Linked DNA regions of Homo sapiens: regions 1, 2 and 4 are each linked to region 3. Evidence: promoter capture Hi-C in 16 types of primary human blood cells and fetal thymus (Javierre and others, 2016). All regions are on one chromosome and are shown on one strand. The core of a region is centred on a gene start or on the middle of the fragment in contact, and the rest is flanking DNA. Distances in the headings are between cores, read along the strand shown.

Region 1 (6,778 bases), core at 1,109-3,608, 380 kb before region 3:
AATAGCAAATTCCTCACTTGGGGTTTTTTGGTATTTCCTTATGATTAGATTCACATTATGCATTCCCAGACTAGGTACTACACAAGTGACATTGTACCCTCAAGGTATCACATCTAGAGACCCTTGATGTCTTCTCATCGATAATGTTAATTTTAATCACCTGGCCAATATATTGCCAACAGATTGCCAGATTTCTCTATTGTATAGTTATCTTTTTTGATTTTAACTAATAACTATGTGTTGGCATACAGTGGAAGGCCATGCAGACATCTTACTCCTCATCAAAATTTCCTCTGAGATTTAGCATCCATTGATAATTTTTGCCTGAGCCTGTCTTAATTGTGATAGTTACAAAATAATAACTTTCTTCACTTTAGCACCTCACTCCATATTTGGCATTCTATTGCAAGCAAGAACCCTCCCTTTATCTATCTGATCTATCGCATCTGTCTTCTCTAGTCAGTTTTGGTAGTCTGTGTGATTCTTGAAATTTTTCCATTTCGTCTAATTTATTTCCATACAATTGTTCATACTATCCCCCTTGTAATCATTTTTATTCCTTTAAAGTCAATAGTAATATCCCCTTTTAATTCTTGATTTTGGTCCTTTGAGTCTTCTCCGTTTTTCATTTTATCAGTCTACCTAAACATTTGTCAGTTTTGCTGATCTTTTCAAATAACCAAACTTTAAATTTGTTTTTCTCTTATTTTTGTATTCTCTCCTTCATTTCTTTCCATTTTTATCTTTATTATTTTCTCCCTCTTGCTTGCTTTGAGCTTAGTTTATTCTTCTTTTTATAGTTTCTTAATGAACTTAGTTCTTCTTTTTATAGTTTATTTTCTTTCTTTCTTTCTTTCTTTCTTTCAAGACAGGGTCTCACTGTGTCACTCAGGCTGGAGTACAGTGGCACAATCACAGCTCACTGCAGCCTTGATCTCCTAGGTTCAAGCAATCCTCCTACCTCAGCCACCAAAGTAGCTGGGACTACAGGCATGAGCCACCACACCTGGCTAATTTTTTAAATTTTTTGGTAGAAACAAGGTCTCACTACGTTGCTGGTCTTGAACTCTTGAGGTCAAGTGATCCTCCTGCCTCAGCTTCTCAAAGTGTTAGGGTTACAAGAATGACCCACTAATCCCAGCCTATAGTTTCTTAAGGTAGGAGGTTAGATTATTGATTTGAGATCTTTCTGTTTTAATTTAGGCATTTACAGCTATAAAAGTTTCTCTAAGCATTGATTTCCTGCATCTCATAAGTTTTTGATATGTAATATTTTTAGTTTTATTCATCTCAAAGTATTTTGTAATTTCCCCTATGATTTATTCTTTGACCCATTGTTTTAGAAGTATGTAGCTTGATTTAGAAGTATGTAGCTTGATGAATTTTCCAAATATCCTTCTGTGATTGATCTATAATTTCACTCCATTGTGGTTAAAAACATACTTTTGACATTTCTGTAATTTTAGTCATTTCATATTTGTTGAGACTTGTTTTATAGCCCAACATATAGTCTATCTTGGAGAATGTTCCATGTGCATTTGAGAACAACAAACACATATTCTGCTGTTGTTGGGTAAAGTGTCCTATAGACTTTGGTTAAGTTTAGTTGGTTTATAATGTTGTTTAAGTCTTCTATTTCCTTGTTGATTTTATGTATAGTTGTTCAATCCATTATTGAAAATGGGATATTGAATTCTCCAGTTATTATTGTTGAATTGTCTATTTATCCCTTCAATTCAGTAAGTTTTTGCTTCATGTATTTTGGGGCTCTGTGCATATATATTAATAATTGTTATATCTTCTTGATGCATTAACTCTTATTATTATAAAATGTCCTTCTTTGTCTTTACAACAATTTTTGTCTTAAATCATATTTTGACTGATCTCAGTTTCTAAACCCAGCTCTCTTTTGGTTATTGCTTCCATAACATAATATACCTTTTTCCACCTTTTACTTTCAACCTATAGGTGTATTTGAATCTAAACTGTGTCCTTTGTACACAACATATAGTGGACCCATTTTTTTTAGTCCACTCTAATAACCTCTGCCTTTTATTTGTAATGTTTAATCCATTTATATTTAATGTAATTTCTGATATGGTAGGATTTATGTTTGCCATTTTCCTATTAGTTTTCTATAGGTTTTTTGTGTGTGTGTGTTCTTCTCTTTCTTTATTAGTGCCCTCTTTTGTATTAAATATATTTTTTCTACTGTACACTTAAGTTCCCTTGTCATTTTTTTTTTTTTACTGTATTTATTTTCTTCATAGTTGGTTTGGAGGTTACAATGATCTTAATTGCAATAATATAATACTTTGTTCTCACACAGCTTTTTCTCCTGCCCACATTTTTTGCTGTTATTGTCATACAAATTACATCTTTATACATGTGTGTCATTAACACAGATTTATAATTATTGTTCTATAAAATTGTCTTTTAAATCAGATAAGAGAAAAAAATTACAAACAAAAACTACACTTATATTGTCTTTTATATACATTTTATGTATCATATGCCAGGGCAGCATGCGCGAGCAAGCGCTGGGAGAGCGAGCGAACGGGGAGCGGAGGCGGCCTGACCGAGTGAGTGCCAGCGAGTGTGGAGTTAGGGGAAGCCGCCTACCCCCGACCCGCTTCCCCATTCCTTCTCTCCCCGTTCCCGTTTCTCCCCCCAACCACCACACCCCGCCCCCCGCCCCCCGAACTCCAAGCAGCACCAAGTCTGTGCCAACGGCTAAAGTCAGTAGAAAGGAGCTCAACTCCAACCGCAACCGGGCAGACGAGACCTCAGAAAAAGAATAGCAAGCAGCAATTGAACACATTTGTGAAGTACAAAATGAAACAGACTTCATGAACAAGCCAGTGAGGAGAATTTGAAAGTAGAACAGAAATAGAACAAACTCTGCCAATCATTTTTTCAGAAGAGGTCAGAATTGATCATTGATGGCCCAAATCCCACATTTTTGGGTAACATCATTTGTCAACCACCCACGAGTGTCTGCACTGCTTGTGGAGGAGGATGAAGAGGCACTGCATTATATGACCAGAGTTGAAGTGACATAATTTGAAGATACTAAATTAGGTTACAGAATAGATTTTTATTTTGATGAACATCCTTACTTTGAAAATAAACTCCTCTCCAAAGAATTTCATCTAAATGAGAGTGGCGATCCATCTTCAAAGTCCACTGAAATCAAATGGAAATCTTGAAAGGATGTAACGAATCGTTCAAGTCGAACGAAGAATAAAGCCAGTAGGAAGAGGCAGCCTGAGGCACCAGAGAGCTTCTTGACCTGCTTTACTGACCATTCTGATGCAGGTGCTGGTGAGTTATGAGAGGTCATCACAGGTAGTACTTGGCCAAACCCATAACAGTGCTGCTTGGTTCCCAATGTGGATGATGAAGAAGAAGGAGAAGAACAAGATGATGATGATGATGAAGAAGAGGAAGGATTATAAGATATTGATGAAGAAGGGGATGAGGATGAAGGCGAAGAAGAGGAAGATGATGATGACGTTGAGGAAGGAGAGGAGGATGAAGGAGAAGATGACTAACAGAACACTGATGTTCTGAACAATTTTTTTTTTAATTTTCTCCAGTCCCTGGGAGCAAGTTGCAGTCTTTTTTCTTTTTTCCCCTCTTGTGCTCAGTCGCGCTGTTCTTGAGGTCTCTTTTCTCTACACCATGGTTTTCAACTTATTTGGGGGGAAATGCCTTGAGCATAATACAATGGGAAAATATTCTCTACCCCTTTCTCTTCAGAATTCATTCTTATCTCTTCCTGTCTGAACAAAAACTGTATGGAATCAACACCACCAAGTTCTGTGGGAGAAAAGAAAAACCTTCTCCCTTTGCTCTGCTGGAAGCTGGAGAGTGCCAGACCCCTGTGTAGCAGTGCATAGAATTCTAGCTTCTTTTCTCCTTTCTCTGTATATTGGGTTCAGAGAGTACCGTGTGTCTCTGTGTGAATATGGACCATCATTTATCAACATGTATCTGTCTACTTTCTCTTGTTTAAAAAAAGAAAAAAAAACCTGTAAAAAATGAGGTTATAGAAAGTCATCAAAGGGTGAGTATGAGATGTTTGGGTGGGTTAAGTGGGCATTTTAACAACATGGCTTCTCCTTTGGCATGTTTATTTTTAAATTTTCTTTTTGTTTCACTGGAAAGGAAAGATGATGCTCAGTTTTAAACATTAAAAGTGTACAGATTTCTTTGTTACAATAAAACTAAATGTATACACACAATAATAATAATAATGAAGCAGCTATGTTGTGTACGGTATATCTGGCCTGAGGACCTGGCCAGTGCTACCAGTAACTATCTTTGACTTTACCTGGAAATTTGCAAAAGAATAGAGCTGACTATTCTCCAGTCTTACCCCTCCAAAGCCCTTGACTGGGGAGGGATCACTGACCTTTTTCAGTGTCTCTTGCCTTACTAGTTTTTCCTTAGGAAAAAATACACCCCACTTTACCATGAATATATATATAAGGTTCTTTACTGAATTGTTCAGTAGATCTCATGAGAACAGGGAACTTGAGGAAGAACAAAGGTTATAAAAATTTGCATAATGAAGCATAGTATCACAAGCCTGGAAAACAATTGGGGCTGATTCAGCTTGAAGAATTCTAAAGTTTTGCACATTAAATCTTGCTATCTAGATGTTAATATTTAGCTTTTCTCTTGATTCTTCAAGTTACTACAAAACCTTTCCCATAAAATTCTTCCCCACCTGTATTTATCTGGGTATCTTGCATACAACCAGCTGATATAGGAGGCACGGTTTCTGTCCTTTTCATCCTTTCTCATCTTTTACAAATGCAAATGCCTCATCTTTGGCCAGATGCTAAGTGAAATTCTCCTTTGCTCACTCAAAGCTGATTTTAAACTGGGGAAAGGTAAACACAGGTGTAAAGGATTAGGCAGAAGATGGGTCCACTGCATTCTAGCTGAATCTCCCTACCGGTGAGATTTTCTCACTAGGTGTCTAAATAAATAAGCAGGCCTCAGTTACATTAGGAAAAGAGATTTCTCTCATTAATATGACTCTGATTTTGTGAAATCATAACCCCAGAATTATTATGACAAATAATATTTCATACTTTGAGAACTGGTTTACTTTTCCAGAGCCACTAGTCAAGATAGCTATTTGCCGTCTAGAAATTAGGCAACAGCTTTATTTAGATACCTTTTTATGCAAATCTTTCCAGCAGCCAGATTGTTTTGTTCTTCTCGGCTATCCTTGCATTCTCCTACTTCCTCCTCCTTGAAGGCTTTTCCACACATACCCCTCTGACCTATCTAACACCTCTCCTTTTTCAGTCTCGATTCCAAAAGGAATCTGACCCTCAAAAGAAGATTCAATCTTCCTGACTTATCTCAGTCTGAAATAGTTCTTCCATCTAGCAATTGTCATATTTGACACATGCAGCCATTGACATCATTGGGATTAAATTACTAATTTCCCTTATGACTATCTTCCAGACCAGAACGAAACATGTAGGAAGACAAGAACTATCCCTGCCATTCTCAGTGTTAAATTTGGAAAGGTGTTTGACTCATAGCAGCTGCTCAATGAATACATCTAACTGTTTTTTGAACAGTCTGAACTTGGTATGTTGGGAGCTAACATCAAAGAACTATTTTCCCCCATTCACATGAGGACTGTGTCAAATCTGCCTCCTATCACTTAAGGAGGTTTTGGGAAAATCATTCACTTTCGTTTCTATCACTTCCAGTAACTTAACAGTACGGCTCAGATGTAAAACTCCCCTTTTACTTGTTCCTGTCACTTCAGCCCAAGCTTGTCTCATGATCTAAAAATCTGTAATAGGGAAGAGGGTGTGGTCTGATCTTTCCCCTTCTATTTTACCTCATCTAGTTCCAGATTCTCAAATCATATAGGGCCAGGAGGAGAGGACCAAATTATGTCTTAGTTACCTGGCTGCTGGTGGTTGTCTCTGTTTTTTGTAGAGCACAGGTGTAACGGCTTTCAGGGTGGGGGTGGGGAACTCTCCACTGAGTAGTGTGCTGATGTGGGAGATCTCTGGCTTGGCCTCTTCCGGCCCTCCTCCCACTCAGCTCCCACCAATGATGTATCAATAAAACCTCTTGCTGCTGGAGATCTGCTTACCTGGTGGCCAGGGTGGCAAGACAAGTGAAGCCTGACTATGCCTGCAGCATCCACTGTGGAAACTACTACATCTTTGCCATGCCAAACAGTGAGTATGCAGGCTGCTCCCGATCTTGCTGCAATGTCATGTTTCTACCATGAAGAAAATCAACAGATCCACTACCCAACCGAGAATTCAGACTTTAGTCTCCCTTTCTTTTGCATACCTTGAACCTCTCATGTGGCACTCTTGGAGGTCTCTTTCATGTGGCACTATGGGTGGAGAACCTTACCCATAGGAAGGGAAGGGGAAAGCTGCAGGACTCCCCAAACTCCAACACTTTTGATCCTGATGATCCTCTTTCTCTCTTCTCTCCCTAGTCCTCTGTTTATATAGAGTGGGGGTGAATAACACTGGGGTAGTAGAACCAGTTCAGTCACCCCTTCCTAAGCCCTAGAGGTGGTGCTGCCCCAATTTATTTGCAGCTTTCTAGAATGTGAAGTCTTTTTGTCCTAGCTCTAAATATGAGGCATTAGGAAAAGTGCCTTTGGAAATCCTATTGCAAATATCTGTTGAGGGAACCAACCAATGTGTTTGCTGCGTTGTCGGCTCCTTAGGAGTCTCTGACCAAGTTAGTCACAGGGATAGGAGACACTTGTTGA
Region 2 (6,972 bases), core at 3,947-6,446, 330 kb after region 3:
TGGAAAGGATCAGGTTTGGAGAGTTCAATGGGGGGCTGCCAGGACATAAGCCTAATATGTGTGGGACAAGGAAACCCCTCTGAAACTCATAAAATGGTATTGTAATACCCATCTATGAGGTGGTTAGGAGAATTAATAAGTAAGTAGAACTGTGCTTTGTGAATTGTAAAGTGAATTTATATATAAGGTGTCAAGATGAAAGGGAAAAACTAAGAAATAAGTTGCCCAAAGATATCATTAGGACCAGGAGACCATTATAAAGTATATCCAGGCCGGGCACGGTGGCTCATGCCTGTAATCCCAGCACTTTGGGTGGCCGAAGCAGACGGATCACAAGGTCAGGAGTTCGAGACCAGCCTGGCCAACATGGAGAAACCCTGTCTCTACTAAAAATACAAAAAATTAGCCAGGCATGGTGGTGCATGCCTCTAATCCCAGCTACTCGGGAGGCTGAGGCAGGAGAATTGCTTGAACCCGGGAGGCGGAGGTTGCAATGAGCAGAGATCATGCTACTACTGCACTTCAGCCTGGGCGACAGCGTGAGACTCCGTCTCAAAAAATAAAAAATAAATAAAGTATATCCATCAGTCCCTTCTCTTTTCCTTCTTCCCCCAAAATCCTCATCTTAACCAACACACCAAGTATAAGAGCACTCCTATGCTTCTGCAGATGGAGGGAAGAACAGCTCTTGTTTTATAGGCTCTGGAGTTAATACCTGGATAATGTGAGATCTGGAAAGATAACTCATGAGCTTAGTCCCTGTGGTTCTTATCACTCTCTAGAGAAGAGTTCTTTAAGGACCAAGGACTATCTTTGCTCTAGGATATCCATTTTGGCCCTTTAATCTGCAATGATAGGCTAGCATTATTTCTCTTAGAATTTGTCTTCAGTTGGTATGCCTCCCTCTGCCTTTCTGATAGGAATGTAATGATAAATGATGACTGCACTCATTTTTAAAAGTTAACCAGTTTTTGTTCAATTGAAAAAGTAATGTACATGGAAAAAATTTCATGTTTACAGGATGTTCAGTGAAAAGCAAATCTCCATTTGATTTCAACTCTCAGTCTTGCTCCTCAGGGCAACTGCTGTTACTCATTTCTTGTGTCTCCTTCCAGAAATCTTCTCTGCATACAAACACTAATGAGAGAGCTGTCCACATTGCTTTTTGATTTGCTTTTTGACTATCTTGGGGATTATGTTTTTATCATAATATTCCATTTTGGGATGCACCATAGTTTGTTCAGACCCATATGGATGACCATTTAGTTTATTTATAGTCTTTTGCTAATAAGGACATTGCTGTAATGAAAAATCCCTATGTATCTTTATGAATATGTATGTATGTATTTTTATGTACATATGTGATCTGTAGGATAAATGTTTTAAAGTACATTGCAAAGTCAAAAGGGTTTGTGCATTTAAAATAAGTAGATAGGCCGGGTGCGGTGGCTCACATCTGTAATCCCAGCACTTTGGGAGGCTGAGGCGGGCGATCACGAGGTCAGGAGATCGAGACCATCCTGGCTAACATGGTGAAACCCCATCTCTACTAAAAATACAAAACATTAGCTGGGCGTGTGGCGGGGGCCTGTAGTCCCAGCTACTCAGGAGGCTGAGGCAGGAGAATGGCGTGAACCCAGGAGGCGGAGCTTGCAGTGAGCCACGATCGCGCCACTGCAGTCCAGCCTGGGAGACAGAGCGAGACTCCGTCTCAAAAATAAATAAATAAATAAAATAAAATAAGTAGATAATGTCAAATTACCACTGAAAGACATTGTGCCAGTTTGTACTTCTACCAGTGGTGTATGATGGCGTATGAGTGCCTAGTTCTCTGCTTTCTTTTCAACATCATCGTTTTTTCTTTTTTTTTCAGTTTAAACCAATTTTAATTGAACTAATAGAATTGAACTAATAGAACTAATTGATTGAACTAGTAGAACTAATGTTAACTGAGCAGTTACTATATACATGCCAGGCACAGTTCTAATTGCTTTACTACATTTTCTCATTTAGTTCTCAACCCAACCAAGGAAACTGGAGAATACACAGTGAGGAGTAGAGCCAGGATTTAATCCCAAGTATTCTGACTCTAGAGCCAGCAGTTTTAACCATTATATCATATTGCTTGTTAAGCTGTAGGTTAAACATGGTATATAATTTTATTTTTTGTTTTTGTTTTGAGACGGTCTCCCTGCCGCCTAAGCTCTGGAGTGCAGTGGTTCCATCAATATCCTGAGGTCAAGCAATCCTCCCACCTTAGCCTCCCAAGTAGTTGGGAGTATAGGCATGAGCTACCATGCCCAGCTAATTTAAAAAAACAAATTTTTTTTAAGAGATAGGGTCTTAACTATATTGTTCCTCTTGTCTTGAATTCATGGCCTCAAGTGATTCTTCGACCTCTGGAAGTGTTGAGATTACAGGCACGAGCCACCACACCCACCCAACATGGTATATCATTGTTTTAAATTTGCATTTCTTTAATTAGGGTGTTTTTATATGTGTATAAACTGTTTTTATTTTAATTTTTTTCCCTGAAAATGGCCTTTAATGTATTTTGCCACTTACTATTGGGCTGTTGACTTTTTTTTTTGAAACCAGTCCTCCCTCTGTCACCCAGGCTGGAGTGCAGTGGCATCATCTTGGTTCACTGTAACTTCTGCCTCTCAGGTCCAAACAATCCTCCCACCTCAGCCTCCCGAATAACTGGAACTACAGGGATGCACCACCACACCCAGCTGATTTTTTAATTTTTTTTGTAGAGATGGGATTTTGCCATGTTGCCCAGGCTGGTTTTGAACTCCTGGGCTCAAGCCATCTGCCCACCTCAGCTTCCCAAAAAGCTGGGATTACAGGCTTGAGCCACTGCACCCAGCCTGTTGATCATGTTCATTAATCTGTTTGAACTCCATATATTAAGGAAATTAGTCCTTTGTCAAATATGTTGCAAATATTCCCTCCAATTTGTCACTTACTTTCATTTTGTTGGTGGTTTTTCTGTTTTGTTGTTGTTTTTCTGTGGGTTTTTTTTTTTTTTTTTGCCATGGACATGTTTTTAGTACTTATGTAGTAGTCAGATGTATTACTCATTTTTTCTGTGCTCTGGATCTTATGCTTTGAATGGCTTTTTGTGAATTCCAATATTTTAAAAATAATTTACCCCTAGCTTCAGTTCTTACATTTAAATATTTGTTCCTTCTGGAATTTTAGTGAATGTGGACAAGGTTATGCTTCAGTTGCCTTAACTAGTTGCCTTGGCATCATTAATAAGTTTTCTTTTCCTCTACTGATTTGAAATGCCATTTTTAATGTATTCCCTAACATATTTGGGTCTGTTTCTGGATCCTCTAACCCACTGTTCTAGAGAGAAAGGTGATCGTTTTAGATTATTTGTCTCTCTGTAATCTAAAATCCAAGGTACACGCTGGGCACAGTGGCTCACACGTGTAATCCTAGCACTTTCGGAGGCTGAGGCAGGTGGAACAGTTGAGGACAGAAGTTCGAGACCAGCCTGACCAACATGGCGAAACTCTGTTTCTACTAAAAATACAAAAATTAGCTGGGCATGGTGACACGTGCCTGTAGTCCCAGCTACTCGGGAGGCTGAGGCAAGAGAATCGCTTGAACCCGGGAGGTGGAGGTTGCAGTGAGCCGAGATTGCGCCACTGCACTCCATCCCCCGGGCGACAGAGTGAGACTCCATCTCAAAAAAAAGAAAAAAAAAGGCCAGGCGCGGTGACTCACGCCTGTAATCCCAGTACTTTGAGAGGCTGAGACGGGAGGATCACGAGATCAAGAGATGGAGACCATCCTGGCCAACATGGTGAAACCCCGTCTCTACTAAAAATACAAAAATTAGCTGGGCGTAGTGGCGCGCGCCTGTAGTCCCAGCTACTCCAGAGGCTGAGGCAGAAGAATCGCTTGAACCCGGGAGGCGGAGGTTGCAGTGAGCCGAGATTGCGCCACTGTGCTCCAGCCTGGCGACAGAGTGAGACTCCGTCTAAAAAAAAAAAAAAAAAAATCCAAGGTGGAGTCCTGGCTTGATCCTATGTGAATTCTAATATTTAAGATTTCAGGCCGGGCGCGGTGGCTCAGGCCTGTAATCCCAGCACTTTGGGAGGCCCAGGGGGGTGGATCACAAGGTCAGGAAATCGAGAGCATGCTGGCTAACACGGTGAAACTCCGTCTCTGCTAAAAATACAAAAAATTAGCCCGGCGTGGTGGGGGGTGCCTGTAGTCCCAGCTACTCGGGAGGCTGAGGCAGGAGAATGGCGTGAACCCGGGAGGTGGAGCTGGCAGTGAGCCGAGATCGCGCCACTGCACTCCAGCCTGGGCGACAGAGCGAGACTCCGTCTCAACAAAAAAAAGATTTCACTAGGAAATTGTAATATCAGTAGTAACAGGCAATTTTAAGCTTCTAATAAAAGTGTATTGAATTTTAGCCTTTCTTCAGATGAACTGGTTGACTTCAGGTACAGCAGATGGTCTTTTACTAGGACCAGATTTACTTCTTCCAAAGTTGGAAGGGCTCTTTAAAGGCCCCATCCTTTACGTATGCCTTAAGATACTTTTTTCCATTCACTTAAATTCTTTGATGACTGAAACTAAACCATTAGGAAATCTTTTATTTGGACTGAGATTATCTGCTATTGAAGTACAAGTTTAACCTGTACTCTATAGGCGATGTGTACATTGGACCTACGTGAAGGCAACCACCAGCATAAGTACTAGAGTCACATTGCCTGGATTAAATTCTGGCTTTGCCTAAATGTGTGGCCTTACACAAGTTAATCTTTCTGGGTCTCAGTACCCTTACATGTAAAATGGGGATAATCTTAGTTTTGAGCATTAAATATATGTAACATGCTAATAGGGTGCAAGATGCATAATGAATGCTCAATTATTTTAGCATTATTATTGGCTTAAGACTGCCAAGTAAGAAGTACTCATTCAGGTTACCTTAAACAAAAAAGGGGAAGTGGGGAAATTATAATTAATAGGAGTATTTAACAGATTCCAAAGGTAGGAAGTATAGTTTGGGCTTCAAAGGATACTAGAATTTCAAAGATAGAACATGATCAGAAAGATTTTCTGTTTCTTCTTTATCATCTCTGTTTCTCACTGCCTTTATTCTTTTCTTTTCTTTTTTTTTTTTTTTTTGAGATGGAGTTTCGCTCTTGTTGCCCAGGCTGGAGTGCAATGTGCGATCTCGGCTCACCGCAACCTCCGCCTCCCGGGTTCAAGCGAGCGATTCTCCTGCCTCAGCCTCCCGAGTAGCTGAGATTTTAGGCATGCACCACCACACCCGGCTAATTTTGTATTTTTAGTAGAGACAGGGTTTCTCCATGTTGGTCAGGCTGGTCTCGAATGCCTGACCTCAGTTGATCCGCCCACCTCAGCCTCCCAAAGTGCTGGGATTACAGGCGTGAGCCACCGCGCCCGGCCTCCCATGGCAATTTTTAAAACCAGAAAAAATTATTAGTAACCCCTTCATAGTAAAAATGGGGCATTTATCTCATCTATTACACAGTGTAACCACCTGAATCACTGTCTCTAGTTATACCATCAGCTCTCTACTAAGGTTTCTTCTAAGTAGCTCCAAGGTGCCCTCCATGTCACCTCACTGGGTCAGGTGTTGATGGGTCTTGGATAGGAGACCTGGCTTTTGCCCCATTTCCTGGGCTAACAGGATTTCATCCAACCAAGCTACTGGCCAAATTTTGAACTATTCAAACACCCTGGTTTTTGTAGATTTCCTTATAGGAAATGAAGGCGTAGTTCTGACCCCTGAAGAGATGCATGGCTACAAATGTAAAAGCTATAGTTTCAAAACTTCTCTATAGAGTTAAAATAGCTGATCCAGTTTTCTTTCCTGAGACTAAGGCTCCCTCTCTCGGAGACTGCTGTTACATCTCTCCTTTCCACTGACAATACCACAAAAGAATAATATTCTTGATAAGATCCCCTTCCTGAGGAGCCAAAGAACAAGCTTTGTATACTCCCCACACACTGCCTATGGGGTAGCCCTCTCTGCAGCATTCATAGAGCTATTTAACACTATTTCTTTTTCTTTTCTTTCATTCCTTTTTTTTTTTTTTTTTTTTTGAGACAGAATCTTGCTCTGTTGCCCAGGCTGGAGTGCAGTGGCACCATCTCAGCTCACTGCAACCTCCGCCTCCCAGGTTCAAGTGATCCTCCTGCTTCAGCCCCCCTCCATAGCTGGGATTATAGGCACACACCAGCATGCCCTGCTAATTTTAGTATTTTTAGTAGAGACAGGGTTTCGCCATGTTGGCCAGGCTGGTCTGGAACTCCTGACGTCAGGTGATCCACCTGCCTTGGCCTCCCAAAGTCGTTGGATTACAGGCGTGAGCCACTGTGCCTGGCCTATAACACTATTTCTTAAAACAAAACAAAAAGACCAAAGAACAAGCTTTAAACAACCAAAATGACTGAAAAGACATCAGTATCTCTCACTAGTGGTGTGAATTAAGTTTGTTTACTTGCATAACTAAGAATAAATGATGGTTATAATGGCACCAGTATAGGATATCTTGGCTATGTGCTTTAACAATATACAGGTTGACCATGAAGTCTGGAAATAGATACTATTATTTTATCATGTATTTAAATATATTAATAAACCATTAATATGTATTCATTAACTTTTCCACATTTCTTGGCAATCTTGTAAATATAGTACAACTATCAGTAAAGAGAGATTAGGGGGCTGGGCACGGTGGCTCACGCCTGTAATCCCAGCTTTTTGGGAGGCTGAGGCAGCGGATCACTTGAGGTCAGGAGTTCAAGACCAGCCTGGGCAGCATGGTGAAACCCCGTCTCTACTAAAAATACAAAAACTAGCCAGCTGTGGTGGCACACGCCTGTAGTCCCAGCTACTTGGGAGGCTGAGGCAGGAGAATTACTTGAATCCGGGAGGCGGAGGTTGCAGTCAGCCGAGATCGTGCCGCTTTA
Region 3 (7,289 bases), core at 4,482-6,981:
CCTGCAGTTCTTCAGACAAGCGGTGGTTACTCTGCCGAAGCTCCTGGATATAATCACAAGCTTTGGATAGAATCCCACCTTTACTCTGCAAGATAAGGTCAACAAAATGAGAACTAGGATTTCAGATACCCAGCTTGCTTTCCAAAAGTAGGTTCACACTTTGGACCTCATTTTCATCTAAGGAAGGTGGTATAATATCTCCCAGGGATACAGGAACCTCAGGGAGAGATAAGACTACTGTCATGTGTGCCCCTCTCTCTACCATTTCTGGAAACAATACCAGGAGGCAGAATTCAGGCATCCTGCCCACTACCAGGGTCTTTCCATGACCTGGCCAGACTTGGTGCTCTCCATAGAGCAGTCTGGGATTATCTTGGAGAGCTGCACGATCCAGTTGTTGATCTTGTCTCGGCGGCGACGCTCCACTGTGGGGCAAAGTGGAGGACAAGGTGACTCAGTGAAAACTCGCCACAAGTCCCAGGGTAAAATTACCTAATCCCTCCTCCCCTCAGACATCACTGCTGAGATCACACCAGACAGCTTCTAGCTCCACCCAGATCATACCTACCTTCATTATGCTGAGCCCTGCGTTTCTCATCCCGAGTCGTCCGGGGAGCTTCTGACTTCCTGACAACAGAGCCCAGGGTGGCCAGAGTAAGAAGACAAAATACATGATTGAAGTTTGGGGTTAAGGAATTATACAAGATTTAGCAGGTATTAGGACCACTTATGGTAGCTAGGTGTGGTGTCTCACACCTGTAATCCCAGCACTTTGGGAGGCCGAGGCAGGCGGATCACTTGAGGTCAGGAGTTCGAGACCAGCCTGGCCAACATGGTGAAACCCTGTCTCTACTAAAGATACAAAAATTAGCCAGGGGTGGTGGTACATGTCTGTAGTTCCAGCTACTCAGGAGGCTGAGGCATGAGAAACGCTTGAACCCTGGAAGCAGAGGTTGCAGTGAGCTGAGATCATGCCACTGCACTCCAGCCTGGGTGACAGAGCAAGACTCTGTCTCAAAAAAAAAAAAAAAAAAAAAAAACCACTTACGGAATCTGAGAAGAAACAAGGGTCACTCACGGGGAATAAGGGTGAGTCCTAGGGGCAATTGAGCGCTGGCTTCCTCCCTGCAGTACTTCTTGTGGTGACATCATCACAAAGAATTGACCTGTGAAGATGCAGGGTAGGTTCTGTCAGGACATGGGTAGGAACCTCACCAAGCCCTGAGGTGAAGACCCTGGTCCCCTCCTCTAAAAAGAACATGCTAATAGAAGAGCAGCCCCAGACTCACTGCCTGTCCAGGTCTTAATGATCACTAAGAGTCATGAGTGAAGGCTCACTGCCTACCAGTCATGTCCCACAGCCTATTCTAGCCCTTTCAGCCAGCATCCTCATGCAATATCTCACCAGTGCCAGGAGGGGTCGCCTGCCCCAGCAGTGCCTCTGAGCCCTGGGTAGTAACAACAGCAGCTGTACTCCCCGATGTGGTACCCCCTGCCCCATCTCCCACTGCCGTGCTGGGGAAGTAAGTATAGTGCGTCTCAGCAGCTGTCCCCTCCGTGTCAACTGCATCATCACTGGTGAAAGCACCCTGGATCACCGCCTGGGAAGGGGAGCAAGAAAACTGATTCTGGTAACAGTCAAAAACTTCTTCCCACTACACCACTCTGCAGCTTCTATCCGTTGGGGTGGTAGGTAGGGTGGAGAGAGAGAGAGAGAGAGAGAGAAACATCCAGAAAAGGAGAGCCTAGTGCTTTGGGACAAGGCAGCCTTAGATGCCTCACTGTTCCTAGCTTCACCCCCATCCTACTGATTCCCTTCTTCATCTTACTTCTCAGAACTCTAGTGACCTCCCCAGCCCATACCCTGTACCTGGGTCATGGATTGAGTGGCAGGGTAGCCACTGATGGCGCCAGTTCCCTCAGTTTGGCCATCCAGCTGCCCCTCAGACACCTGGATCACCCTGTACATCACCTAGAAGTGTAGAGGAAGGCAGAGGGAGTGAAGAGAGAAGAAAAGATTAAGTGTTGGGAATCCTAGGGCCCCTCATAAAGCTTCCCTTGGATAGGGCCCCAAAACAAAGTCCTTCAGAGACATGGATTCAGCCATTCTCCCTTCTTTCCCCACACAGAGGTTTCAGCATACATCTAACCTCACACCAGTCTCTACTCCAGTATTAGCACCTCCCTCCCCTGCAACAGTCCACTCTTTCAACTCATCCTCCAAGCCAGGTCTCCCCAAGACATGTTCAATTACCTCCCTCAATCCCAACCCCAGATAACACCTGCAGCCACCTGGCCCCCTCCCTTACCTGGCCCCCATTCTCAGTTCGGAAGACGTACTTGACGTTGGGGTCAGGGAAGGTGGCAGCTGACTGGATGCTGGCAATAGCCACACTGGTTGGGTCTTCCCCAGTAGCCACTGCACCTGAATTAAAAGAACAAAGGAAAAGTCTGTGAGTTAACTGCCTTTCTACCCCCGTTCCATTTGCATGTCACGGAAGGAGGAGGATGCACAGGAGATGGTCTGGTGGGGAAGGAAGGGAGGCCATGATGGGTTCTTAGTCTTGGTTCTGTTTCTAGCACTCACCTTCCTGAATCTGCACTGTCCCCTCTTCCGTTTCAGCTGTTTTCTGCTGCCTGTTTGTGGTGAAAGGACAAAAGGAAGAGTATGAGAAGAAGTCAATGAGAAGCTCACTGGCCCAGTAACATATGGCTGCAAACTCATTGGCATTCCCAACAGAAGCTGGGTTAGGTTAGAATAACAACTAGTGTTTACTGTTTACTATGTACATAAGCACTAAGCTAAGTACATTACATGTAATCTTATTTAGTACTAAAAACAGCACCACGAGATAGATAGCACTACTTCCATTTTATAGATAGAGAAACCAAATCACACAGTAAGTGATAGAGTAGAACCTGAATCCAGGTCTGCCTGACTCCAGAGGCAGTGCTCTTGGTCATTTTGCATTCTTCCAGGCCACCCATCTTTCATCCCAGACCCTACCTCTTCTTCACTCACCCCTTCATCTCTCTGTGAGGGGGCACATCCGAGGAACTGGTCCTTTTTTGGAGGTCTTTGTATCTCCTGATTCACAGGCCTGAGTGCTAAGTCCTGGTAGAAATCATGAAGTTTGCAATGAGTTTAGGAAACAGAACAGTATCTCTGGTTCTAGAACTTAGGTTCCATGAACACATAGCCAGGAAAATAACCCAGTCATCTGCAGGGGACAATCAGCCTCCACCATACTGATGTTGAGGACTGGCCTACAGTGATTGAAAAAGCAAGGCTACAAATAGTGTTCCCCATCCCTCCATTATCACTCCAACTCCTGGTGGAGAGTGGATAATTATACTGGAAGACAGAAACAACACTTTTTTTTTTTTTTTTTTTTTGAGACAGAGTCTCTCTCTGTCACCCAGGCTGGAGTGCAGTGGCGCGATCTCAGCTCACTGCAACCTCTGCCTCCCAGGTTCAAGTGATTCTCCTGCCTCAGCCTCCGGAGTAGCTGGGATTACAGGTGCACACCACCACGCCTGGCTAATTTTTGTATTTTTAGTAGAGACGGGGTTTCACCATGTTGGCCCGGCTGGTCTCGAACTCCTGAGAGCATGATCTGTCCACCTCGGCAGCCTCCCAAAGTGCTGGGATTACAGGTGTGAGCCACTGCACCTGGCCGAAACAACACATTTCTTTCTTTTTTTTTTTTTTTTTTCTGAGACAGAATCTTGCTCTGTCACCCAGGCTGGAGTGCAGTGGCACAATCTCGGCTTACAACCTCCATCTCCTGGGTTCAAGTGATTCTCCTGCCTCAGCCTCCTGAATAGCTGGGATTATAGGTGCCCACCACCACGCCCAGCTAATTTTTGTATTTTCAGTAGAGATGGGGTTTTACCATATTGGCCAGGCTGGTCTGGAACTCCTGACCTCAGGTGATCCGCCTGCCTCGGCCTCCCAAAGTGCTTGGATTACAGGCATGAGCCACCGCACCCAGCCAACAACACATCTCTAAATGGATCATTAAAGCTATTATGACCTGCCATGATGGCAGCTTCATGGGAATCAGGAAGGGCCATGTATTGGCCCCACCATCAAAAAATACAGTGTCATGGACACTGATGCTTCTTCCAGTTTCTCAGCCACATGTTGTCCATCAAGACATTTCTGTTTTCAAACCTAGGAAGAGGAAATCTGAAGCCCACTACCACTGGAAGAATATCCCTGACCACAAAGACTAGACTTGGCATTTGGGCCCCATTCTACTGACAGGACTCTTGTTTTGGGGTATCCAGATTTATATAATCTGTTAGAAACCCTAAAGCCCAAGTGGATCCTCTTCAAGCATTCTCTATTTTATTCATCAAGCCTTCCTGCAGAACAACACTGTTGCTAAAATGTTGCTATGACAACTCCAAATCAACTAAGCCTGAGCAAGAAGGGGTAAAAAAAAAAAAAACAGGGTTCTGAAGAAGAGACAAAGGGGGAAGAATCCACCTACAAGCTCTGCCTTAGGACCCTGACACCCAGCCAGAGGGCAGGAAAAACAAAGAGCTGGGCAGACATGCCTCCAGAAAGAAACAGCTACACAGTACAAAGCAATAAGATAATCCCAACACAAAAGGGGCAAGATTTTTGGAAATTCTCTACCCATAAGGTCCTCCAAACCTTTCCTATCCAAGGAAAATTTTCAATGGATAAGCCTCGGAAAGACCGCGTCCGAGGAAAATGTTGAAAAAGGAACTGAAAGTGAAACCGTACAGACGAAGTAACGCTGCAAGGAGATCCCAGTCGATAAGGGGAAGTAGCACTAGTGTTTTGGGACCACCTACATTTCCATCTTCAAACCTGAAGAGGAAATGCCCTGCGAAGCTTGCCGCGCTGACTGCAGGGGAAGGCAATGAAATAGAGGGCCCGGCACAGGAGGCATCTCTATTGGCCACAGCTGTCAGCCGGGGCAGTCTCTGAGGACACCCAGCAACGGGGTCAGGGTACTTATTCAAATCTTAGTTGGACATCCGGAAGCATTTCCTAGGCATTAGGGATCGGTGACACGGAAACAGGGATGGGACGTTGTGGTGTGCACGCTCAGGCCAGAAGGGCCCAGTAAGAGCCCTTGCTAAGTCTGGACACAAAGGGAAAAAAAATCAACTCCCGAAAGAAGTCAGGCACCTAGACCTTGCCTTAGAATGAGGCGTCTCCCTGCAGGCTCACCAACCAGAAGGCGCTTACGGAGCTGAGCGCCCGCCAGGCGCGAGCCCGGGAGCCTGCGCCGTGACCCCGCAGCCCCGCAGTCTTAGCCCCGCGCCCCAGCTGCTCCGCGGAGGAGGCAGGAAAGGGCCTCGGGGACTAGGGAGCTCAAGCGCCCGGTGCCGGCGGCTGCGGCGCGCAGCTGGACAGCGCAGGAGGGCTGGGACGCTCGCGCTCTGGGGAAGGGAGAGAGTTTGGCCCACAAAGCAGGGTATGAGATAAAGAACCAGCACAGCCCCCTCCCCCAAAACAAAGGCTTCCTCCCCAGCAGTGTTCTCTAACTTGAAAAACGGAAACAAAATCAAAGCTGCCCTGCCTTGCCAGTCCACCCAGTTTCCAGACTTCTGCCCGGTCCTACACTCACCGGCCAAGGCCGTCTCAGCTGCCGATTTTCTCCAACTGTGTTCTCCCTCTCCCGGCCTAGGTATCTCCATAGACAGCTGCTCATGCGCACTTCCAGCCCGCGGCCATGTTGGTGAGGGGCGGAAGTGTCGCTCTCGCCCCGCCCATAAACTCAAACTCAGAACTGCCCCACTTCCGCTCACTCCATCTTGATGAGAGTTGGTGTTTGTGGGTTATTTGTGAAGCCGGAAAGAAGCCGTGTCCTGGAGAATGTAGCTGAAGGCCTGGCCACTTTCGACAAGAACGGGAAAGAGACGACTAACTTGTACTAATATCTTAGTGCTTGGCAGGGCATTTTTTCATTCCAGGAAAGAAGAGAATCCAGCTGAGATCAAGGGAGGGACGTCCGACGGAGGCGCCATCTTTAACAAGGGCTATTTGGGAGGCCATCTTGGCGCAGGGCGTCTTTTTGAAAGGTTACCTGCTAGAGATTACGACCTATCGGGGCATGCATAGAATTGGATATGTTCCTTGTTATTCGCGTCAGCAGTCACTCATCCAAAGACCCCAAAGCTTCTAGTGTTCTAAAGGCTCACACCTTCTGTGACAGGAATCTTGATTCCCATTCTTCTCAATCAAGACCTACCCTGAATGGATTTGGAGTAGTGTGGTATAATGGGAAAAATTCAAGCTTGGGGGCCAGGCAGATCCAGGTTTCAAACCCATCTCTGCCACTTCTTACCTCTGAGACCTTTGGCAAACATTTTGACTTAATTGAGCCTTAGTTTCCTCATCTATAAACTGGAGATACTAGCACCAACCTTCCAGAATTGTGTGGATTAAATAAAATCAAGGACATAGATTTTGTGAGCACAGGATACTTAGTCCAGTTCCTGGCACATAATGAACGCATTATGTAAATATAAGTTTCTCTTCCTTATTTCCTGACCACCATGAACCTAGCTCTAGTTTCTGGCCACTAGTCTCCATGACAACAACTGAGGAAGAGCACCCAAACAAGAAGAAGAAAAAGAATGTTTTGCCAAATATGTGAAGATATAATACCTATCACCAAAGACTTTAATAAGAATAATGAGACTCCACACTATGTGTAAAAATACAGCTTTTATTCTGAGACATTGACCTTCACTAGAGTGGGACCTGTGGCCCCAGCCTGGCTGGAGAAGCAGTCCCAGGGCCTGAGTGACACCATTTCCCTTTCCTGAAATAGGAACAAGTTATTCCAAAGGAGAAAGGAGAGCCCAGAGAGATCTGTACAGGACCTCTCTTGCACATGGTGACTGGAGGCAGAGGGTGGGGAGCTGGAGAGGAGTCCAGTCCCTCCAACAAATATTGAGGGCTTCAAAGAGCTCTTCCTGGACGTTTCTCTTAATCTGGATTTAAAAGGGACAGGAGGTATCTTAGGGTCCAAGAACATAACAGGAATGGGCAACTCTAGAAGTGTTTGTGTGTGGAAGGCCCTAACCTGGCCCTGTCCTCCCTGTCTCTACCTTTGGCTTTCATGAAGAGAGATTCACAGCTCAGAGGAAGGGAGGAATTTCTCCAGTCTTCACTTTAACAAACTCTTTTAAGTTTTCTGCCTACCTTATGTTCCCTTTGGCCAATGACCCACTCCCTGGGAACAAGATCTTGTTGACTTTCTTGGGAATCTCCTAAGAGATAAGTGCTTTGTGTCGGA
Region 4 (7,577 bases), core at 2,363-4,862, 280 kb before region 3:
ACTACAAGCTTTTAGGTCATTTATGCCATGCTCCAGTTGGGATATATATATATATATATATTTTTTTTTTTTTTTTTTTTTTGAGATGGAGTCTCGCTCTGTCACCCAGGCTGGAGTGCAGTGGTGCCATCTCAGCTCACTGCAACCTCTGCCTCCCAGGTTCAAGCAATTCTCTTGTCTCAGCCTCCCAAGTAGCTGGGACTACAGGTGCCCGCCACCACACCCAGCTAATTTTTGTATTTTTAGTAGAGACGGGCTTTCACCATGTTGGCCAGGCTGGTCTCGAACTCCTAACCTCAGGTGATCCATCCACCTCGGCCTCCCAAAGTGCTGGGATTACAGGGGTGAGCCACTGGGCCCAGCCTCCAGTGGGGAATTTAAATCCCCAAGCTCATCCCTTTCTTTCACCACTTTGTCCATTGATATTAGGAGAAACCAACCAATGTCATTGTGTTCTCTTATTTTCTAAAAATGTTTAAAAGTATCATATACAGAGTAAATGAGCTCCTTGCTTCATATAAGTGATTAGATATAAGTTGATTAGAAGTATTCAGTGCAGATATTTTTCCTATCTCTATATAAATAGTGTATGTCACAGACTATCACTGCTTTCCTTACTACTAGAAATAGTCATTAGTATCTTTAAATCTAATCAGATTGGAGAGCCAATTCCAGAGACTCCAGAGCCAATTCAGAATAACCATTCTTAAAATTGTTTCCTGTAGAACCACTCTCAGTACCAAACTCTATATTAGCCAGGGTTCTCCAGAGAAACAGAACCAATAGGATGGAGATATATGCATGTATAAAGATTTATTATAGGCATTGCCTCATACAGTTATGGAAGTCAAGGAGGTCCCATGATCTGCTGTCTACAAGCCAGAGAACCAGGATAGCCAGTCGTATAATTCCGTTTAAGCCTGAAGACCTTAGAATTAGGAGGCCAGTGGTATAAGCCTCAGTCTGAGTCCAAAAGTCCAAGAACCAGGATTGTCAATGTCTGAGGGGAGGAGAAGATGGATGTCTCAACTCAAGCAAAGAAACTAATTTCCTTCCATCCTTCACCTTTCTGTTTTTATTTTATTTTTTAATTTTTATTTTAGGTTCAGGGGTATATACGCAGATGTGTTATGTAGGTAAACTCGTGTCATGGGGATTTGTCAGGTAGATTATTTCATCTCCCGGATACTAAGCCTACTATTCAATCATTATTTTTTCTGCTCCTCTCCCTCTTCCCACCCTCCACCCTCAAGTAGGCCCCAGTGTCTGTTGTTCCCTTCTTTGTGTCCATGAGTTATCACTTAGCTTCCACTTATAAGTGAGAACATGCAGTATTTGGTTTTCTGTTCCTGTGTTAGTTTGCTAAGGATAATGGCCTCCAGCACCATCCATGTTCCCGCAGAAAACATGATCCCATTCTTTTTTATAGCTGCATAGTATTCCATGGTATGTATATATTTTTAATTGACAAATGATAATTGTACATATTCTTGGAGTACATAGTGATGTTTAGAGCCATATAATTTGTAGTGATAACATAAGGGTAATTAACATACTTGTCATCTCAAACATTTATCATTTCTTTGTGTTGGGAACATTCAATGTCCTCCTTCTAGTTATCTAAAACTGTACATTATTGTTAACTGTAGTCATCCTAGAGTGGTATAGAACACTATAACTTATTCCTCTTATTCCTCCTATCTAGCTATAATTTTGTAATCTTTAACAAGTCCTTCCTTATCCCTCCTCTCTGCGTTTTTGTTCTATTCAGGTCCTCGATAGATGTGTGATGCCTGCCCTCATTGGTGAGGGCAATCTTCTTTACTTCATCTACTGATTCCAATGCTGATGACCTCTGAAAACACCCAGCAACAATATTTTATCTGGTATCTGAGCATCCCTTAGCCCAGTCAAGTTGACACATAAAATTTACCATGACAAGGACCAAGAGTTGTTTTCCCTCTGCCAAGGTAGATCCTGTATAAGGCAGGGACAGCCGCATGGGATAGCTTCCAGAAGGGACAATCCTGGAGCTGAGTTAGTCTGGGAAGAAAGCAAACAAGATGAGGACAGGGAGAGATGAAGGTGAGGCCCAGAGGCTAACCACTAAGATCTCCACTTCAAAGATGGGCAGACAGCAAGGCAAGTGGTTGAGGCAGTTAAGAGGAGACATTGGTGTGGATCCTGGCTCTACTTTAGGGCTGAGGCTACCTAAAGTTTTTGCTTTTGCTCTTCCATGCATACCACCTCCATCCCAAACAAGGCAGAATAAAAAACCAGGGGTGAGCTGGCTTAGAGCACCAGGAAAACGAAAGGAAAGGATGTGTAATTAAAAAGGGGAAAAAGAAGAAAAAACCCATGCTACCCACAGTGGTTAGTCACTAATCTGCATTACTTTCACCACACTGAAAACTTGGAGAGGAGAGAGGAAGAGATACAGAGAGGGGAGGGGGGAGAGAGAGAGAGAGAGAGAGAGAGAGAGAGAGAAAGAGATAGAGAAAGAGAGAGAGAAAGAGAAAAGCAACTCTGGACGTCATGTATCTTCTCTTAGTCCTATGACCATGAGCAAAATGCTTAGTTTCTTGGAACCTCAGTTTTCTCTTCTATAAAATGTGAAAGATACTTTCTACCTCATAGGATTGTAGTGAGATTAAAGGTAAAGATAATCATACACGTAAAGTGTTCAGCAGAGTATAACATCACAGTCCTTCGACAGAAGTTACCTCATCATAAAGAGACTACTGGCTAATTATATAGATTCCATTCAGAACTGAGCCTCTAGAACTTTAAGTATAAAGAGTAACTGAAGACCTGAGAATAGCAGTTAATCATATCATTATAAAGTTGAGGCATATAATAAGAGGCAGCTGACCAGTGCTCACAGATCAAGCAAAGTAGCAAACACTCCCCTCTGTGTCATTCACTCATTCACGCCACCCTTACAGAAGGCTTGTCAGCTATAAGGCTCTGAGCTGTTCCTCCCCTCACTCCTCCGGTGCTCTTTCTAGCTCCTCCTCTTTGCTGTGTTCTCCATGTTCCCTCCCAGTCACTTGCATGCTGGGACCTGTGCATCTCCCCAGGAGCAGAAGCAAGCCTTGCTGAGTCAGGCTGCTAAACGGACTTTCTGGTTCTGGAGGTTCTGCAGGCCCAACTGTCCTGTGGGTACAACTCTGCCTGTCTCCTCCTGGTCAGTTAGGGACCTAGCACAATCCCTCTGATTGCTTGGCTCTGTGGAGAGCCTGTTCCCTGCTCCCATCTCACTTGGACCCAGTGAATTTCATTCATTTCCTGCTTTGCCTGGTCCCTGGATCTGTCTGATGCCTACTGGTCAAGCCCTGGTCTGACTTCCTACCCAGCCTCATACCCTCCAATCCAGGCAGCCTCCTCGCCACTATGACAACCGTAGGGTCTGGAAGGCCCCATGGGAATGTAAGCTTCATAAACGGAGGGAATTTTTGTCTGTTTCCTTCACTTTTCTCTTCCCAGACCTAAATCAGTCCCAAACATCTATTTAAAACTTACACAGAGAATTTTGGAGCTGGAAGAGACTCTAAGGATCATGTAGTCTAACTCCCTCATCTCAGAGAGAGAAAATGAAAGCAAGGTCACAATGCAGGCTGATGGTGACAGGATCCTCCAAGCCACACAGCAAGCCCTGGGTTAGCTCACTGCTGCCTCCTCTTGGCCCAGCTGGCAAACCATGCACATATTCAGCAATTTTACTAGTCTGTTTCTTGTTTTGTTGTCTGTTTTTCAATAAAATATAGAACCTTATGAAAATACCTGCACATTAAGCTTCATGAACACTGAGGAAAACACACAGTATTTCCTCTTCTTCTTCTTCTTCTTTTTTTTTTTTTTTTGAGATGGAGTCTCACTCTGTTGCCCAGGCAGGAGTGCAGTGGTGCAATCTTGGCTCACTGCAACCTTCATCTCCTAGGTTCAAGCAATTCTCCTCCCTTAGCCTCCTGAGTAGCTGAGGAGCTGGGATTACAGGTGTGCACCACTACACCCAGCTAAATTTTGTATTTTTAGTAGAAATGGGATTTCACCATGTTGGCCAGCTGGTCTCAAACTTCTGACCTCAGGGGATCCACCTGCCTCAGCCTCCCAAAGTGCTGGGATTACAGGCATGAGCCACCGCACCCGGCCTTACACACAGTATTTCTGTAGAGTAAAACTGTTGAATGGAATCTGCTTCTTAAAGTCTTCTAAGGGAAGAATATTGAGGTAACATAATCTGAATGAGAGTCTAAAAAGAATACAAGGAAAAGAATAGCTTAGAAGGCAAAATATAAGGCTGTATGAATAGAAAGGAAATAGATACCCCTGAATTTTGTGTCCATTTTTCAATTTCCTTATTGCTTCGAAATTTAAAATAAACATCAGCAGGGATGTGAACTCTCCCTAGCCAAACCCAGAACTGTGGGAAAGGCAAACAGCAATGGATAGGTTGCTTCTCTCACAGAGACTTTCATTCATTCATTCTGTTTTTGTTTTTGTTTTACATTCACTTACTCTGTAAGACAAAGTAGCAAACATAAGAGGCCATGTTTGCTCATTCAGCTGCCAGCAGAATTTCACAAAGCCCCTGACTCAGTGACTGAGGACAGCCCTTCGGAAGGATGCCCTGAAGATGATAAGAAGGATGGAGCCCAGGTTACCACATCTCTTACCTAAATCACTGCATTTTTAGAAAAGATAAATTCAATGATCCTGGCCTTTGTCTTTTTGCTGTACATAAGATAATGGTTGACAGGATTAATCATTATGCCTCTGTAATCTATAACTAGATGTACCCTTGCACCCAAACTTTGGTGAAATTTTGCTCTTACATAACTTTTGAGCACAGGCAGAATGACTGTCACCTTATGTATAAGCTGTAGGCTGAAACACTGCTTTGGAGCAGTCTAACAGAAACTCTCCGAAAGACTCTCCTGGGTTGCCAACCTCAGTAAGACTAAATAAAACTCACTTTAATTCTTTAAAAACTTGGCTTTTCTTTAGTTGACAAGTGTTTCAGCAAGTATTTAGTGAGCACCAACTATGTGCTATGGCCAAGAAGCAGGGATGGATAAAGCATGACCCCTAACTTCAAAGAGCTCACAACCGATGGAAAAACAAATGGGTCAAGAAGCAACTTGACACAGATTGAGCCAGATGGAGAAAGGTCAATGAGTCCCCTCGAGGAGAAAGAAAAGCAAGGTCATAACACAGAGACATGTGTAGTGACCGTGGGGCTTTAATGGCTGTACTTTGGGGTGTGGAGAGAGTGGGTAAAACTACAGAGATGCCAGATTGTAGCAATCTGTTTACTTTTCGGCTAAGAAAAATGAAGGGGGCTTTTCCAACAATTTGTTTTTGCATAGTCTGAACTGTCAACTTACTCTTTCATAGGGTGGTAATCGATCTGCTCCTAAGGGTCATTAGTCGTTTCCTCCTCTTTCAACCTGTTCTCACCTCCTCCTGTCACACAGCAAGGGCATCTGGCAGCACCAAGGCAGGAAGCCTTCAGATACATACAGTTCATACTTCACACCTAAAACAATTTCCAGTAGACACTCACTTCCCTGGCTTTTTGTGGGTAAGTGGCAGGATTTGAGCTCTTCTCTTCTAGTGCAATCTCAGAGCTTTCAGTATCTTGGGACCTTTTCCAGCAGGCATTAGCTTCTCTATCTTGGGACCCTTTCCAGCAGGCATTAGCTTCTCATTTTGCTACCCCGAAGTTAGGGGCCAGGAGATGAAGCATTCCACTCCTACAAAATGCTGGTGACTTGAAGAGCTCAAAAACAGGCATTGTACTAATTCTTCCTTCTCCTTCACATTCAGACGGCAGGCTGCCGCCCAAGAGTTAAGGGGTTCTGGTTCTCTTCAGACGCAAAGAGTGAATAGTGCTCTGTGGCAGAGGTTTGTATTTATACGTCTATGCCTTTAACAATGGTGCATTTGCTCTCAGGATCATGCTACCTGGAGTCCCTGAATGACAGTTGTCTGGAATAACAAGCAAGATCACTGACAGCCCCAGAACTGCTTCCCTAGCTATGAAATTTTGTTATATCTGTAAATAAGCATAAATATTAACTAGTCAGTAATGTTGAATTTTGTTGAATGTATAATTGGACCTAGATTTGGAGAAAAGATATTCAACTCTAATTTTGTTTCAACTAAAATTTGACTGATTAGTCTCTGCCTCTTTGTTTAAACCATTCACTCTTCCTGTAGAACCCCGTGGCCCATTAAAATCCTCCCATTTCCACCCAGTCAAGTTCCTAGACCTTTGAGTTCTCTTTTTGGTTATTGTTCTTCATCTCTTGGTGCATGTGCTTTCTAATATTTTAATTTTTTTCAAAATACTACATATATATAGTTATAAAATTCAACTAATAGCATAAGACATAATAAATTTTGAAAAAAAAAAAAGCAGCAGTCTTCTGCCACACTACACCCAGAACTGCTGTTCTGGCAACTGTTGTGCTGGCAACCACTGTCAATTATTTGTTTTTTCTCATGATACTTCCTTGATATTTAGAAATGATATATTTGTTCTGTCCTTTCTTGATTTTAGACATTAGTTATTGACTTCCTGCTATGGAGATAGGTATTTGGCTCTCTCATCCACTGTCCTCCACACTCTTTAGCCACTCAGCAACACAAAGGCCTTTCTGCCCATCCCGCCAGAGTATGTTGTAACATAGCTTTTTGCTAAACTGTATTTAACATTTATGACAATAAGTATTCACATTCGAGCCATGTAGAGTATTCAATTTCCTTCCTAACCATTCTTTGTTTTTCCTATAGTTGATAATGTCTTTCACTGGGTGCTCTGGTCCTGCTGCCTCTATTAATCCCCAGTACAACAGAGTTGAGAGGTGGGAATTTTAAGAGCCCTCATGAATTGGTTAATGCCATTATCTTGGGAGTGGGTTAGTTATTGGGGGAGTGAGTTCCTAATCGAAGGATGGGTCCAGCCCCCTCCCCTCTCTCTCTCTCACACACACAAACACACACACACACACACACACACACACTCACTTTCTGATCATGTTATGCCTTCCACCATGTTATGATGCAGCAAAAAGGTCCTCACCAGATGCAGCCCCTTGATCTTGGACTTCCCAGTCTCCAGAATCATGAGACAAATAAAATTCTACTGTTTATAAATTATCCGATCTGTGGGATTCTGCCATGGCAGCACAAAATAGACTAAGACATGTCCCTTTCTGGAACTGTGTTATCCAGGGGTTGGAGTTCCTGGGCTGATTCTTTAATGGCCTTATCTTTTCTCTTTTATTTTCATCTGTTTGTCTTTAGTTCTACTTTCTGAGAGAGTTTCTTCATTTGATTTTCCAACACTTCCATTGAATTTTAGAAGTTTTCTGCTTTTTATTTATGTATTTATTGTTACTAGGGCTCTTTCTTACTCTTGGACTTTTCAGTTTTTCTTAGGCTGGCACCCTGTTTCTGTTTTTAAGTGAAAATCTTTTTATATGTCTCTAAGAATATTGTTTGAGGGATTTTATTTAATTTTCTCCTGCTCCCTGTATTATCTCTTTTCTTCCAAGTTTCTTTTTTCCCCC

Evidence for each region. Contacts are between HindIII fragments. The CHiCAGO score rates a contact against its expected background, and 5 or more counts as called.
Region 1: a fragment that was not itself captured here is called in contact with the fragment with the promoter of USF1 in region 3 in 1 of 17 cell types (M2 macrophages); the score reaches 5.4 in M2 macrophages.
Region 2: a fragment that was not itself captured here is called in contact with the fragment with the promoter of USF1 in region 3 in 3 of 17 cell types (naive B cells, megakaryocytes and M1 macrophages); the score reaches 7.3 in naive B cells.
Region 4: a fragment that was not itself captured here is called in contact with the fragment with the promoter of USF1 in region 3 in 1 of 17 cell types (fetal thymus); the score reaches 5.2 in fetal thymus.

The regions. Positions count from the first base shown.
Region 1 is chr1:160,667,431-160,674,208 of GRCh38, forward strand. It overlaps the pseudogene SETP9. Among named protein-coding and RNA genes, the nearest start is that of SLAMF1, 24 kb to the left of the region's middle. RefSeq lists an enhancer at 5,543-5,602. The HindIII fragment of the contact is 6,892 bases long and covers 1-5,804 here.
Region 2 is chr1:161,368,679-161,375,650 of GRCh38, forward strand. No RefSeq gene overlaps it. Among named protein-coding and RNA genes, the nearest start is that of CFAP126, 4.3 kb to the left of the region's middle. The HindIII fragment of the contact is 1,575 bases long and covers 4,410-5,984 here.
Region 3 is chr1:161,040,246-161,047,534 of GRCh38, forward strand. It overlaps USF1 (upstream transcription factor 1), which reads right to left and starts at 5,732. Exons shown (of 11, transcript NM_007122.5): 1 at 5,613-5,732; 2 at 3,023-3,115; 3 at 2,588-2,637; 4 at 2,310-2,425; 5 at 1,871-1,972; 6 at 1,406-1,601; 7 at 1,079-1,166; 8 at 569-627; 9 at 331-425; 10 at 1-85. The coding sequence starts at 3,030. It overlaps ARHGAP30 (Rho GTPase activating protein 30), which reads right to left. Exons shown (of 12, transcript NM_001025598.2): 12 at 6,701-7,289. RefSeq lists enhancers at 4,532-4,761, 4,821-5,701, 5,300-6,499, 5,612-6,091, 5,702-6,582 and 1 more. The HindIII fragment of the contact is 1,293 bases long and covers 4,869-6,161 here.
Region 4 is chr1:160,764,837-160,772,413 of GRCh38, forward strand. No RefSeq gene overlaps it. Among named protein-coding and RNA genes, the nearest start is that of LY9, 28 kb to the right of the region's middle. RefSeq lists enhancers at 3,107-3,156, 3,187-3,636. The HindIII fragment of the contact is 361 bases long and covers 3,433-3,793 here.